Linked DNA regions of Homo sapiens: region 2 is linked to region 1. The links are contacts of gene promoters, found by promoter capture Hi-C in human tissues and cell types (Jung and others, 2019). All regions are on one chromosome and are shown on one strand. Each heading gives the region's core, a stretch centred on a gene start or on the middle of the fragment in contact. The rest is flanking DNA. Distances are from core to core; before and after follow the strand shown. Region 1 holds the start of ZNF446 (zinc finger protein 446). Region 2 overlaps LOC124904784 (a long non-coding RNA gene).

Evidence for each region. Contacts are between HindIII fragments. The study calls those that stand out against the background at their distance.
Region 2: a contact is called between a fragment that was not itself captured here and the fragment with the promoter of ZNF446 in region 1, in 1 of the 25 tissues and cell types used here (spleen).

What each region holds. Positions count from the first base shown.
Region 1 is chr19:58,475,098-58,482,640 of GRCh38, reverse strand. ZNF446 (zinc finger protein 446) reads right to left here and starts at 6,289. Exons shown (of 7, transcript NM_017908.4): 1 at 6,137-6,289; 2 at 5,081-5,462; 3 at 4,815-5,004; 4 at 4,460-4,554; 5 at 2,914-2,998; 6 at 2,622-2,711; 7 at 1,411-2,465. The coding sequence starts at 5,422. The coding sequence ends at 1,915. ZNF324 (zinc finger protein 324) reads right to left here. Exons shown (of 4, transcript NM_014347.3): 4 at 7,205-7,543. It overlaps LOC112268251 (a long non-coding RNA gene), which reads left to right. Exons shown (of 3, transcript XR_007067366.1): 2 at 195-1,226; 3 at 1,454-1,544. RefSeq lists enhancers at 6,031-6,230, 6,385-6,679, 6,501-6,750, 6,991-7,050, 7,111-7,200. The HindIII fragment of the contact is 17,703 bases long and covers 1-7,543 here.
Region 2 is chr19:58,160,149-58,167,611 of GRCh38, reverse strand. All of the region lies in intron 1 of LOC124904784 (a long non-coding RNA gene), which reads right to left. Among named protein-coding and RNA genes, the nearest start is that of ZNF329, 13 kb to the right of the region's middle. The HindIII fragment of the contact is 6,997 bases long and covers 1-5,577 here.

The DNA.
Region 1 (7,543 bases), core at 5,040-7,539:
CCCAGCTTCAGGCCGCAGCAGGGTTCCTGCCCCTCCCAGGGAGCCCCTCCTGGGGTAACCACAGTCGCAGCTACCCTCAACATCCACCTGCGACTTGTGCACATGCTGCACATACCAGCAGCTGGCGAGGGCTCCTTCCGAGAGGGCACCCATTTCCTGAAACCATCCCCTGTGAAAATGCCCCTTGTTTTCAGAGTAGGAAGGAGAAGAGTGCTGAATCAAGGCCCCCAAGGAGTCCCCATTCCAATCCCCAGAAGCTGTGAACATCTCAATTGGCAAAAGGGACTCTGCGGTGTGACTAAGTGTGCAGGTAGGGGACAAGATATGATGAGGGTCCTTAAGGAGGCCAAAGGATCGATGGGTGTCAGAGAGCTGGCAGCCTAAGGAAGACGTGACCAACCATGGCTGGCTTTGAAGACGGAGGAATGGACCAAGAAAAAAAAAAGGGGGAACGTGGGCTGACTCTAGAAGCTGGAAAAGGCAACAAAATGGATTATTCTCTCCTAGAGCCTTCAAGAGGAACCAGTCCTGTTAAAACCTTGATTTTGGCCGGGCGCGGTGGCTCACGCCTGTAATCCCAGCACTTTGGGAGGCCGAGGTGGGTGGATCACGAGGTCAGGAGATCGAGACCATCCTGGCTAACACGGTGAAACCCCGTCTCTACTAAAAATGCAAAAAAATTAGCCGGGCGTGGTGGCGGGTGTCTGTAGTCCCAGCTACTCAGGAGGTTGAGGCAGGAGAATGGCGTGAACCCGGGAGGCAGAGCTTGCAGTGAGCCGAGATTGTGCCACCGCACTGCAGCCTGGGCAACTGAGCGAGACTCCATCTCAGACAAAACAAAACAAAACAAAACAAAACAAAACCTTGATTTTAGCCCAGTGGGACCCATGTCAGAGTTCTGACCTTCAGAGCTATAAGAGAATCTGTTGTTTCAAGCTGCCAAGTTTGTTAAAGCAGCAACAGAAAACTAATACAGTGCATTGGCGAGTCCCCAGTGACTGCCCAGAGATCCGGTGCTTCCCAGGGAGCTGACCTTTTGCCTTCCTGCTGCATGACCAGCTAACTATGGAGGGTGCGGCCTGACCTAGAAGTACCCATGGCCTTGGCGCAACCCCTGCTTGCAGCCCCTCTTCTCAGAGGTCCCCCTTGTCCAGCCGTACTTCGAAAGGAAATCCCCTTTGTGTCTCTCAAGCCGGGACTGATGAGTTCCAAGGCCAGTGAGGCTGGTGAGTGATGTGGGCGGCAAGGAGCAAGGGAGGCTGGGGACCTGGGACCTGGGTTCTGTGGCAACAGAGGTTTGGCCGTTCTGGGCTCAACTGCCCTGTGCTGCAGCTACTGGGCAGAGACAGCAAACTGCCTATTTCCCGACCAGCAGAAGCCAGAAATCAGGATTCTTATTCAGAAACTCCATATTATGAAAGTGGAATTTATGTTAAAATTCTAACACACACAGGGAGCAGGAGAAACGGAAGCCAACTGTGCTTTCCTGGGTCTTCTGCTGCTCTCCACACTGAGACCTCAGGCCCAGCCTCTGCACAGACGAGTGGGAAGGCACAGTTTTTGAACACCCACCTGAGGCAAGGAGGTCCCAGGAGAGGGAGTGTTGTCAGCCCAGGCCATGTCACAGGGAGGGAGGGAGCCTGGTGCTTGGCAGTCACCCCACAGGCACTGGTCAGCCATAGAAGGGAACCCAGACCTCCCTCTAGGAGGCAGGGGCAAGAAGAGAGAGAGCAGCTCCTTTTCCTTGCACCCAGGTCTTTTGGGGGAGACCAGACCAGGGGCAGGGAACTGGCTTGGGACCCCTTGTTCACTCTGGCATCCCCTGCTGCCTCCAGAGTCTTCTGCTGGTGCCCCAGAGGCTGTATCCAGGCCCCGAGAACACCGAGGCCCCGAGGGACTGTGCTGTCTGGCTGCTCATGGAACCTCCGGCCGGTGGCCCTTGCGGTGGATGACCAGCTGCGACTTCCAGTCGAAGGCGCGGCCACAGTCACTGCAGAAGTGACGCCGCTGGCCTGTGTGGCTCTTGCGGTGGATGACCAGCTGCGACTTCCAGCTGAAGCTGCACCCGCACTCCTCACACGGGTAACTCCGGGGGCCTGTGAGTGAGCGTCGGGGGTGGTGCGGAAAGGCCACCTCCCCTTGTGGTGGCTTCTCTGTGCTTTCCCCGGTGGCTAGCCCCGGGGACTGCACACCTGGCCCACTCGTGTGTGTCCGGTGGTGGATGACGAACACTGACTTCCAGTCGAAGCCGCGGCCACACTGCTCGCACGTGTAGGGCTTCCTGGGGGTGGCAGCCGGCTCCAGTCTCGTCTCTGCAGGTGTGGGCTGAGTGGGCACTGGCGGTGTCCCTGGGCGCACAGTGGGGGCAGGAGTGGCAGCCCCAGACAAGCCCTCCCAGGCTGCCGGCCCTGGGCCCTGGGGCGGCTGGGCCTCTGGGCAGCCAGGTGGACCCTCACTCTCATTTCCTGGGGGCAGGGGCAAACCAGGTGAGTCCCGGCACTCAGCAACCCCTCCCTCAGGCTTGTGGCCGTGGCACAAGCTCCCGTCCCCCCATGAGTGGGTGGCTCAGGTCCCACCGATACAGGAGGGGTGATTCAGGCTGGATGGTGTGGGGCACTCACCCGAGCGCAGGCTTCTGCAGACGCCTGTCCCCGTGAGCAGCATCCCCAGCTCTGACTGGGCCTGTGCCTCTGGCTGGTGGGGCGGTAACCCTGCCCGGGTGGGGGGCACAGTTAGGCATGGGGTTTGCATGAAGGAGGGGTGGGGTCGGTTCTGGTAGGTGACAGGGTGTTCCTCTGGAAGGTGGGAGAGCTGGGTAGGGCTGGTAGCACAGAGGCCCTGCCCAGCTAGGCCTGCTGCAGGGTGGGTGCAGGCCCCAGGGAGAGGGGCGGGGTGGGGCTGGCTGGTCCTCACCCAGGGAGACCACTGTGCCGTACTTCTCCAGCATCGCATCCCAGTACAGTTCCTTCTGTGACCGGTCCAGCAGCCCCCACTCCTCCTGCGGATGTGGCCCATCACTGTAGGCGTCTTTCCACCCCTTCCCTGCCCTGTCTGGTTCACATTCTTACCTATTACCCGGAAGAGTCAGCAGGTTACCTACGCCTCATCTGCCCCTCCTGCTGAGAATGATCTCAAGGTGTGTGTTTGTTAAGTGCAGAGGTTCTCCTTCAGATCACCTGACCAGTGCTGCTGCCAGCACTCATCCCCCTCTACTACACCATCCTGCTCAGAGGGCAGGTTTGGCAGCATCACAGGGACCTGAGTGACTTTATCGAGGAATGAACTCCCTGATTGGGGGTCAGCCCTCCTTGCTGCCTGAGTCCCATCATCTGGGGCTTTGCTGGGTTGGGAAAAATAATCCTGAGGGACAAGCTGTGGCAAGTCCAGGGGCAGGAAGGCGGCAGCTGTGAGGAGCCACAGCTAGAGATGGTGCTGGCTGGAGGTGAGGACACTGGGAAGTGCAGCCTACCCACCCTGCCTCACTTTCTGACTGTGCCATGGGGCTGTGGAGGGAGCCTGGAAGGACTTCTTAGCCTCGAAACACATCTCAACCAGCAATGTTGCTGCTGAAGCTCCCCAGTGGAGTTGTTAGAGGAGCCGGGAGAGGAAAAGACCTTGCTACCCACACTTGGGAACCAAGCGATCCAGGTAGAAGAGGCCTCAAGCTGAGCTTCCAGGCCTAACAGGTGGCCTCTGAAGAAACCCCTAGGAGAGAAGGGACTTCGGGCATTTCCCAGGGAGAGTGTCTCCATCTGGTCTCAGGTGTGGGGGGAGTCCTGCCACAGCTGGTCATCTTCTCCCCTCCCCAGCTACACACAAAAGTTCAAATCCCCAGGTCTGGCTCAGGACCTCTGGGAGCAGCAAACCTCCCAGCTGACTTCTCTGGAGGTGAGGAAGCCAAGCCCACTAGTTCCAGCCACTCTAAACTGGGTTTCCATGGCTTGAGGCCCAAATCCTTTTTTTTTTTTTTGTTTTTGACACACAATTTTGCTCTTGTTGACCAGGCTGGAGCGCAGTGGCACAATCTCGGCTCACTGCATCCTCTGCCTCCTGGGTTCAAGCAATTGTCCTGCCTCACCCTCCCTAGTAGCTGGGATTACAGGCGCCTGCCACCACTTCTGGCTAATTTTTGTATCTTTAGTAGATACAGGGTTTCACCACATTGGTCAGGCTGGTCTCGAGCTCCTGACCTCAGGTGATCCGCTCACCTCAGCCTCCCAAAGTGCTAGGATTACAGGTGTAAGCCACCATGTCCAGCCCCAAATCCTTTTCAATAATAGATCACCAGTCTGTCCCTCTGCCCCAGGTCCTGTGGAGGGGTACAGCTTTTACAGACTCCACTTCTGGGAAGCAAAGAGCCACTAGTCAAGGAGCCTGGAAAACCACCAGGCAGAGGGCAGCCATGGGGACAGTCCCTTCTCACACCTGGGGCCTATACTTCCCACTTGGGGCTGCTCACCTGAATCCTGGGTGGGTGGAAGGATGTGGAGGCTGGTTCTTGGTGTCCATGGTTCCCCTCAGGGGACTGTGCTGCAAGTGGAGGGCTGGAGGGTGCTGAAAAGTGGGGCAGATGGAAGGGTGGTGTCAGGGGCTGCCCACATGAGCCATGGCAGATGAGGAGCTCCTCTGCTGTGTGACATGGCACGTAGCCAGCCCTTGGCTCCTGCCTCCCAGGTCCCCATCCCAGACAGGGACATCCACATTCACTTCAGGAGTCCCAGCCTTGACACACCTCTCCTGGGACTCCCACCCTAGCCAGGAATGTCCACACTTCCTCCAGGAGTCCCTCATCTCTGGTGGGACCCCAACCTCACCCACTTCCTGTCCATCGACATTGGGCTCCTCCTTCACACTGCAGCTGAGCTGGACAGACCCCTCTATTCTGGTGTCCTGGGGACCTTCCCCAGGGGACTCCACTGTCCCTGAGGGGTGGGGGCTCCCAAGTGGTTCCTCTGTCTTCTGGGCTGCAGGGAGCACCTCCTGCTTCAGGACATGGGCTGTGATCTGAGGAGAAGAGGTAGGTCACAATGGCTCTAGCCAGGGTCTATCCCTCCAAGAAGCTGATGCCAGCCACACTCACCCAGCCCAACAGTTGCCCAGGGTCATGCTGCAGTCCTTCGACTAGGGCAGCGGCCTCCTCAGGACTGCCTGGCCGCTGACCGCGCACCCAGGCCTGGATCTCGGGAGGCAGTGTGCCCAGGAACTGCTCCAGCACCAGCATCTCCAGCATCTGCTCCTTGGAGTGTGCCTCAGGCTGCAGCCACTGGCAACACAGCTCACGCAGCCGGGCCAGGGCTTCTCGGGGACCTGCCACCTCCTGGTAGCAGAACCCTCGGAAGCGGAGGCGGGCAGTCTCAGGCTCCTCAAGGGTGGTCTCTGGGTCCATGACGGGCAGGCATGGGGGACCCAGAGGGGATGGCATTCTTGCTCAAGGGGGTGGTCTTGGAATCGTCAAGATGGGCCTACAGAAAAGGAAGGGTCGGAATGTCAGCCAAGAGAATCTGGCCAGGGGAAGGCAGACACCAGGCTCAGCCCAGGGGGCTGAGACCAGGACCAAGTGTACTCTGAGGCCAGAAGAGATAAGGCCAAGAAAGCTTCATGGAAGGAGGAGGGTCACAGGACCCAAACAATGATGGCAAATGAGAGCAGGAGGAAGCCTCAGGGACAAATGCTTGGACGCAAGGTGTCCAGGGAGCTTCCTGGAAATTGCAAACAGTTGGGTCCAGCAGGGGACTGCTGGGAGATGACGCTAAAGAGGTGGAGAAAGACAGTCATCACAGAGTTCCAGCGCCAGGCTGAGGAGCCACAGTGTCTAGCCGAGGTGCGAGGAGAGTGGACCAGGGTGGGCGGGTAGAAGGTGGGGCCAGGCTGTAATGTACGGGGACGAGTCGCCCTCCACAATCTCGGGGAGGTTGACTGGGTGGGACCTCCTTTAGGAATGGCTCTGGGGAGGGGGCACGTGGACATCGTGCTCGCTGACCACAGCGAGCCGTGGGCGACTCACACTGCCGGGGCCCGTGCATGTGAAAACGAAAAGCAAAGGCCAAGAAAAACGGGGCCAAAGCTCCACGTTGCGCGGAGTCGAGGGATGGCCACAGCATCCCGGCCCTGAAGGTCTGCAGTGAAAGACGCCCACCTGGACGGGCCTGAGAGACCAGGCCTGACACCCGGCCTATCCGAGGGATGCTCGAACTTCGGGATCTGTCCCCAAAAGGGGAAGGCAAGAGGGAGGCGTTCCAAGAGGACTTGCCAGGCCCGGCCCCCCGGAACGGCGTTGAGGGTAGGAAAGGCCTGAGCGAAGGCTGAGGTGACGCGCGCGGCCTGTCGGGAAGTGGGCGGGCCCTCCAGGGCGCCGACAGCAGGAGCCGTTCAGGCCCCAGAGGGCGACCCCAAGCCCTCCCACGGGGTGGAAAGGCTGCGCCCACTCTGGCAGCCTGCGCTCACCTCAACCCGGAGCGGTTGCTTGGAGGCCGCTTCCCGGATGTGGCGCCGCACAACGCGGGGCGCCTCAGCCGGGTGTTGCCCCGGCGACGCCGCGCTGACCAATCTCTCGCCTGCACCGAAGGCACCGCCCATGCCCTTTGAACTACATTTCCCATGAGCATCAGCAAGACAGGCGCGACCGTGACCCGCTGACCCGCATTTGCAGCAGCCTCTGACGCCTGAGAGGCGCTCTGTTCCTCTAGGAGGTACGGCAGAGTCCCAGGGTTATATGGTCTCCCTCCGCTCTGAGAGCAGCTCTTCCCGGGTTATAAACTTGCGCGTCTGTACAGTGGGCCGGTTTCTATTGGCAGGTGAGGGGAGGGGGTTTTGCCCAATCAGAGGTGGCGCTTGCTTGGCCCCGCCGCCCCCACGCCATTCCCCGGGCCAGCCCCTAGATAACGCTAGGGCATATCCGCCCGCCTCCAGCTGTTCCCGTGGCAACGTTCAGGAGCGTTGCCTCGACTTCCGAAGAGGCTGGAAGTGGCGGCCCAGTGGTTTCCTAGGTCGAGTAGTTCGCTGGGACTCGCTTCCAAGTGGACCCGGGAGAGGCGGTGGTGTAGAAGACCACCCTGAGCCTGGGCTTTCTCCCGCCAGGAGGGTGCGAGGGCCATCTTTGACCTCTGTTAAGCGCCCTAAGGAGGTACCGACGGTTGTGACCGCAGTCTCTGACGTCTTCAGATGTCAGTCCTACAAAGTCGGGGGTGGAGGTTTCCCTCCAGGCTGATCGGACATGCTCAACCGTTTATTTACCTTTGAATTTGGGGAGCAGAACTAGCCAGGGTGACACTAGTTTCTCCCAATAAGCAGTGTTACAGTTTTCTAAATCTGTGGGGTCAGTTTTGCTTCCACACTTAAAAGTGGCCGAGCCATTACTTAGTCAGTCCTAAATTACACCGCCTGTTTTGGTTTCTTTGGATACCTGGGAATCCCTGCTGCCTGCTCTGGATGAAGAGCAGTGGTCTTGATCACCGATTGGAAGCACCGAGCATGTGCGTGGATGAGACTTGTCAACTCGGAGCTTTCCAACGGCCTCCTCAGGTTGTTTTTGGGGATGAGGTGC
Region 2 (7,463 bases), core at 830-3,329, 310 kb after region 1:
GCACGATCTCGGCTTACAGCAAGCTCTGCCTCCTGGGTTCACACCATTCTCCTGCCTCAGCCTCCTGAGTAGCTGGGACTCCAGGCGCCCACCACCACACCCAGCTAATTTTTTTTTTTTGTATTTTTAGTAGAGACGGGGTTTCACGGTGCTAGCCAGGATGGTCTTGATCTCCTGACCTCGTGATCCACCCGCCTCGGACTCCCAAAGTGCTGGGATTACAGGCGTGAGCCACTGTGCCCAGCCGCATATGGCCAGACATTTCTATGAGACATTGTTCATCAGGCCTAGACCCTGAGTCCCCATTAAATGGTGTTTCTATGGCAAATTAGGGACATATGTAGAATAGAACTGCTTATCCCTGCTGATCTGTGGCTGCAGGGAGTCACAAGTTTGCAGTCTTGTTACATTCAGATACTTAAGAGTTAAAAAATAACTGGTGGCTTTTGCCTCCTTTATCCCTGATGTCAAATAAAATGGAATTCCAACCAATAGCTTTTCCACATTGATCTTTTTTCAATGAGTTTTTCTAATTTGTTTGAATTTCCTGGTGTCAAATAAGGTAAAAGCCATGGTTGAAAGCTTGCCAATACTGACTGCATTCATAGTGTTCTCCAGTATGAGTCCTCTTACGTTCAATAATATGAGAACAACTCCTGAATGCTCTTCCACGCAAATTACATGTATGGGGTTTTCCTCAGTATGAGTCCTCTGATGTCACATCATAAGGGCTAGGCTACGTCTGAAGCCTTTCCCACGATGACTGTATCCATCACTTTGCTCTCCAGTGTGTCTTCTGTGATTTTTGAGTAGTGGAGGAGCAAAGTGTAAAACCTTTCCCTGAATGATTCCCTTCATAAGGTGTCTCTATAGATTCTTAGCTATAGGGTAAAAGTGTTCACTTCTTTAGAAGAATTTCCTAAATTCACTGCAAATATATAATTTCCCACAAGTATAAATTGTCTCATATTGAATAAGGTATAATTTGTGTCTACAGCCTTTGCTACAGCGATTACATTTATAGTATTGTTCTCCTGTATAAGTTCTGAAACATACTGAAAGAAATATTTCTTAATAAAGACTCTCCAACACTCAACACATTTGTAAGGTCTATTTCCTGAGAGAGTTTGCTCATACATCAGTGGGGTTGAGCTCTGTTTAAAGACTTCTTTACACATACTACATTTATATGGTCTCTCTCCAGTATGACTTCTCTGATGTCAGAAAGTATTTACCATAAACAGGGATTTCTCACATTCAGAACATCTGGAGGGTTTGTCAACTGTGTGAGTGCTCTCAAAACAAAGATGAGAGGAGCTCTGAATACACTTTTCCACATTCCTTACATTCAACTCAACTCTCTCTAACATGAATTCGCTTACATTGACTGAGACTTGTGCTACACTTAAAAAATTTACTACGTATATTTCATATATAAGGCTTTTCTACACTGAACTGTTTGCAAGTCTAAGAAGTTGAGTGTTTTGACCAAAAGCATTCCCAAAATCATAATTTTCAGGGGTTTTTCCCTGTGCATTTATGGTTTATTAAATCTGAATGTTGTTTTACAATGAGTCATGTATGTAGTGGTATTCATTGATAAGAATATTGTTTAGTGGGCCAGGCACGGTGGCTCACGCCTGTAGTCCCAACATTTTGAGAGGCCAACGTGGGTGGATCACAAGGTCAGGAGTTCAAGACCAGCCTGGCCAAGATGGCGACACCCCTGTCTCTACTAAAAATACAAAAATTAGCCAGGTGTGGTGGCGGGTGCCTGAATCCCAGCTACTTGAGAGGCCGAGGCAGAGAATTGCTTGAACCCAGGAGGTGAAGGTCGCAGTGAGCCAAGATCATGCCATTGCACTCCAGCCTGGGTGACAGAATGAGACTCTGTCTCAAAAAACAAAAACAAGGCCAGGCGCGGTGGCTCATGCCTGTAATGGCAGCACTTTGGGAGGCCAAGGAGGGTGGATCATGAGGTCAGGAGATCGAGACCATCCTGACTAACACGGTGAAACCCCGTCTCTACTAAAAATACAAAAAATTAGCTGGGTGTGGTGGCGCGCGCTTGTAGTCCCAGCTACTCTGGAAGCTGAGGCAGGAGAATGGCATGAACCCGGGAGGCAGAGCTCGCAGTGACCTGAGATCCTGCCACTGCACTCCAGCCTGGGTGACAGAGCAAGACTCTGTCTCAAAAACAAAACAAAACAAAACAAAAAAGAATATTGTTTAGTGGAAGAAGGCTTGAATTCTACTTAACATTAGCTGTGCATTTCTTATTCTTGCAACCTCATTCCTGAATCAGTGTTCCTCAAGCATCATTTGTTTGACTCATCTCTCCTGGTCCTCCTTCTGCTTCTCTAAGTGGACCTTACAGTCCTGGTTTCTTCCAAATGTGAAGAAATGAAGCTCATTCTTTGTGAATCTTTCCACTTTCAGGATGGCATTTTTGTTGTTGTTGTTTTTATTTTGTTTTGTTTTGTTTTGAGACGGAGTCGTCCTCTGTCACCCAGGCTGGAGGGCAGTGGCGCAGTCTCGGCTTACTGCAACCTCTGCCTCCTGGGTTCAAACAATTCTCCTGCCTTAGCCTCCCAGGTAGCTGGGATTACAGGTACACGCCACCATGCCCAGCCAATTTTTGTATTTTTTTTTTAGTAGAGACGGGGTTTCACCGTGTTGGCCAAGCTGGTCTCAAACTCCTGACCTTGTGATCCACCCACCTCAGTCTCCCAAAGTGCTCGGATTTCAGGCATGAGCCACCACGCCTGGCCTGGCATATGGTTTTCAGACAAATGTCTTCCTTCCTGGTTATCTCTTTGCTTTTGATGATAGTTTCACAATCCAAAAAAAAAAAAAAACCAGATACATTTGTACATCCCCTACAGTTGTTCACTGAATAAATTATGGCTTGTTCAATCAATTAAAAAACCATAATTTTAAGAGCTGGAGAGAAAATGCTGGTATTAAGCACATCGAAAGCATGTTGATTTGTTTCCAAATCTGTCTTGCCAGGAGCGACTGAGCAAATAAGAATAAGCCCAGTCTCTCCAGGTGGCTGATAGGAAAATAGATCAATCTCTGCTAGTAGTCATTTCTCACTCTCTTTTCTTTTTCTTTCTTTCTTTTTTTTTTTTTTTCTTTTGAGACGGAGTCTCGCTCTGTCGCCCAGGCTGGAGTGCAGTGGCACGATCTTGGCTCACTGCAAGCTCTGCCTCCTGGGTTCACGCCATTCTCCTGCCTCAGCCTCCTGAGTAGCTGGGACTACAGGCGCCCGCCACCATGCCCAGCTAATTTTTTGTATTTTTAGTAGAGACGGGATTTCACCATGTTAGCCAGGATGGTCTCGATCTCCCAACCTCGTGATCCACCAGCCTCAGCGTCCCAAAGTGCTGGGATTACAGGCGTGAGCCACCGCGCCCAGTCTCCTCACGCTGTTTTCAAGATGCTCTTCTGGACCCCAGTGCTTTGGGGGCTTGTCCTGAGCCCTCTTCTCTCATCCACCAGTATGGTCTGTTTTATTCTGCTGGCTTCAAACACCATCTGAACATTGATGAATCACAATTTGTAGCTTCATTCCAGATTCTTTTCTGAGCATGGACATATTTCACCATATTCATACTGCCTGCTGGGAGTGTCTATTCATTTTACAACCATACCTTGTCAGTACTGAGTTCTACTCTCATGCTCTACCTCCTCTTCTCCCAGGTTTCTCCTGTCCATGGATTGCATCACAGTTGCTCATGCCAGTAGCCATGGACCCTTCCACTTCCATTTTGAATCAATCACCAAATTCTGAGCCCACCTTAAACATACATTGAAATGATCCCCTTTTTACTTCCATTGACTCATCCGGTTCCAAGTCATGACACTTCTTGACTGAACTACACAGTAGTGCTTTCATCATCATCTCCTCTTCTGTTCATGACACCATCCCAACACTCAACCAGTGCAACCGTTCAAACATGGAAATCAGGCCAGGTGTGGTGGCTCACCCTTGTAATACCAGCACTTTGGGAGGCCAAGGCAGGAAGATCACTTGAGTTCAGAAGTTCGAGACCAGCCTGGACAACACAGTGAGACCCCCGTCTCTACAAAAAAAGTTTTTTTTTAATTAGCCGGGTGTGGTGGTGTGCACTTATGATTTCGGCTACTTGGAAGGCTGAGGTGGGGGGATTTCTTGAGCCCAGGATTCCAAGGTTGCAGCAAGCTATGATTGCACCACTGCACACCAGCCTGGGTGACACAGCAAGACCCTGTCTCTTTTATTTATTTATTTATTTTTTTTATTATTTTTATTTATATATACTTTAAGTTTTAGGGTACATGTGCACAACGTGCAGGTTAGTTACATATGTACACATGTGCCACGTTGGTGTGCTGCACCCATTAACTTGTCATTTAACATTAGGTATATCTCCTAATGCTATCCCTCCCCCCTCTCCCGACCCTGTCTCTCTTAAAATGTAAACTAGATCATTTAATTCTCTTGCTTAAATTCAACGAGTGACTTCTCATTGCTCTCAAATATTTATGCTTTTTTGTAGAACATCCACATTCACTATGCTGATTGCTACATAAAGGCAGATTCCAAATCTGTTTGCTAATTTCCTTGGCAACAGTACCTAGCATGGCATCACCGTGACTGTTTCTTGGCCAATTGTTTGAGGTGACTTGTATCCCTCACCATTCGACTGTTATGTTGATGACTTCCAAGTCGAGATCACTAACCCTCAGCTTCTGAATTTCCAAAGCCTGTGACTAAATGCCTGCTGGAGATCTTCCCCCACACATCAGGCAGTGCCCTTCTAATGGTGCAAATTAGATCATGTCACTCCCGAGGTTAACTCCACCCCTTCTGGTTTCCTGTCTCCTTCAGGGTGAAGCCCAAACTCCTAATCAAGGTGCACAAGGCCTGGCACATGTCAGCCAGATTTCCCCTGACTCTTCTGCTCTCTCCCCTTGCCCATCCATTCTGTCTTCACTGCCTGCTATTGTTTTTTTTTTTTCCTTGGGGAACGAGTCTCGCTGTCACCCAGGCTGGAGTGCAATGGCGTGATCTTGGCTCACTGCAACCTCCACCTCCTGGGGTCAAGCAATTCTCGTGCCTCAGCCTCCCAGGTGGCTGGGATTACAGGCACGCGCCACCATGCCCAGCTAATTTTTGTATTTTTAGTAGAGATGGGTTTCACCATACTGGCCAGGCGGGTCTCAAACTCCTGACCTCAAGTGATCCGTCGGCCTCGACCTCCCAAAGTGCTGGGATTACAGGCATGAGCCACTCACTGTGCCTGGCTGGTTTCTTGATTGTACCAAATTCTCTCCACCTCAGAGCCTTTGCTAGTGCTCTCCTTCTACCAAAATGCTCTTCCTCAGTATGTTGGCTCCTTCTTTTACTTGAGAAGTCAGATTAACATTGACCTCCTCAGAGAGGCCTTCTTGGACTGTGTAGTGAGCTCAGTAATGGTTTCCAAAAGATGTCCACATCCTCATCCCTAGAACCTCGTGAATGTTACTTCACATGGCAAAAGAATTTTTACAGATGTGAATAAATTAGGAATCTTGAGATACAGAGATTATCCTGGATTATCTGAGTGGGCCCAGTGTATTCACAAGGATACTTAAATGTGGAAGAGGAAGATAGAAGAGTCAGAATCAGAAAACGAGTTTTGATGATGGAAGCAGAGGTTGGAGTGACTCAGGGCCATAGACCTAGCAATGTAAGTGTCCTTTAGAAGCTGGAAAATGGAAGGCATGTATTCTCCACTCATGCCTCCCAAAGGAAAGCCAACCCATTTTGGATTTCTGACCTCCAGAACTATAAGATAATAACTTTATTTTGTTTTAAGCCACTAAATCTGTGGTAATTTGTTACTGCTAGGAGTCAGCAAACTATAGTTTCCAGGTCTGGTCCCGTCTGTTGCCTTTTTGGGGAGGGGATGGCTTATGAACTAAGAGTAGTTTTTATATTTTTTAAAATTCTTTTTTTTGTTGTTTTGGCTGGTCAAACGAAGCAGTGGGAGTGGAGAAGAACAAAGAAATCTGTAACTGGTTGTGATCAATTAATTGTAGTTTTTACATCTTTTAATAATTGAAAATAAAGGAATAATTATATTTTGTGATGTGAAAATTATATGAAATTCAAATTTCAGTGTCCATGAAGTTTTTTGTTTGTTTGTTTGTTTGTTTGAGACGGAGTCTCACTCTGTCACCCAGGCTGGAGTGCAGTGGCACGATCTCAGCTCACTGCAACCTCCACCTCCTGGGTTCACTCCATTCTCCTGCCTCAGCTTCCCGAGTAGCTGGGACTACAGGCGCCCACCACCACGCCTGGCTAATTTTTTGTATTTTTAGTAGAGACAGGGTTTCACCGTGTTAGCCGGGATGGTCTCAATCTCCTGACCTCGTGATCCGCCCACCTTGGCCTCCCAAAGTGCTAGGATTACAGACGTGAGCCACCGCGCCTGGCCCATAAAGTTTTTTTATTTTTATTTTTGTAGGGATGGGGTGTCACTTTGTTGCTCAGGCTGGTCTTGAACTCCTGGGTTTAAGTGATCCTCCCACCTTGGCCCCCAAAAGTGTTGGGATTACAGGTGTGAGCCACCACACTCAACTGTCCATAGGTTTTACTGAAATACAGCTCTGCCCATGTATTATGTATAGTCAATAGCTGCTGTTGTGCTACAACAAGGTTGACAGTTGCAACAGAGACCATATAGTCCCCCAAACCTAAAATATTTACTGTCTGGTCCTTTACAGAAAAAGTTGTCTTCCCTTGTTGTAAGCTGCTATGTTTTTGTTTTTTGTTTTTGTTTTTGTTTTTGTTTTTGAGACGGAGTCTCGCTCTGTCGCCCAGGCTGGAGTGCAGTGGCGTGATCTCGGCTCACTGCAAGCTCCGCCTCCCGGGTTCACGCCATTCTCCTGCCTCAGCCTCTGAGTAGCTGGGACCACAGGCGCCTGTCACCACGCCCGGCTAATTTTTTGTATTTTTAGTAGAGATGGGGTTTCACTATGTTAGCCAGGATGGTCTCAATCTCCTGACCTCGTGATCTGCCTGCCTCGGCCTCCGAAAGTGCTGGGATTACAGGCGTGAGCCACGGCGCCTGGCCCGTTTTTGTTTTTGTGACAGTCTCACTCTGTTGCCCAGGCTGGAGTGCAATGGTGCAATCTTGGCTCACTGCAACCGCTGCTTCTGGGGTTCAAATGATTCTCCTGCCCTGGCCTCCCGAGTAGCTGGAATTACAGGTGCGCAACACCATGCTTTGCTAATTTATTTTAGTAGAGACAGGGTTTCACCACGTTGGCCAGGCTGGTCTTGAGCCACCGTGCCTGGCCTAAGCAGCTATGTTTTGGGGTAATTTCTTACAAAGCAGTGGATAATTAACACAGAACCTCTTCCTGTTCCTTGACTTGGGACTAAAACACATGAGACTAGCTTTAGCAAACAGGATGTTAGCTCATGTGGT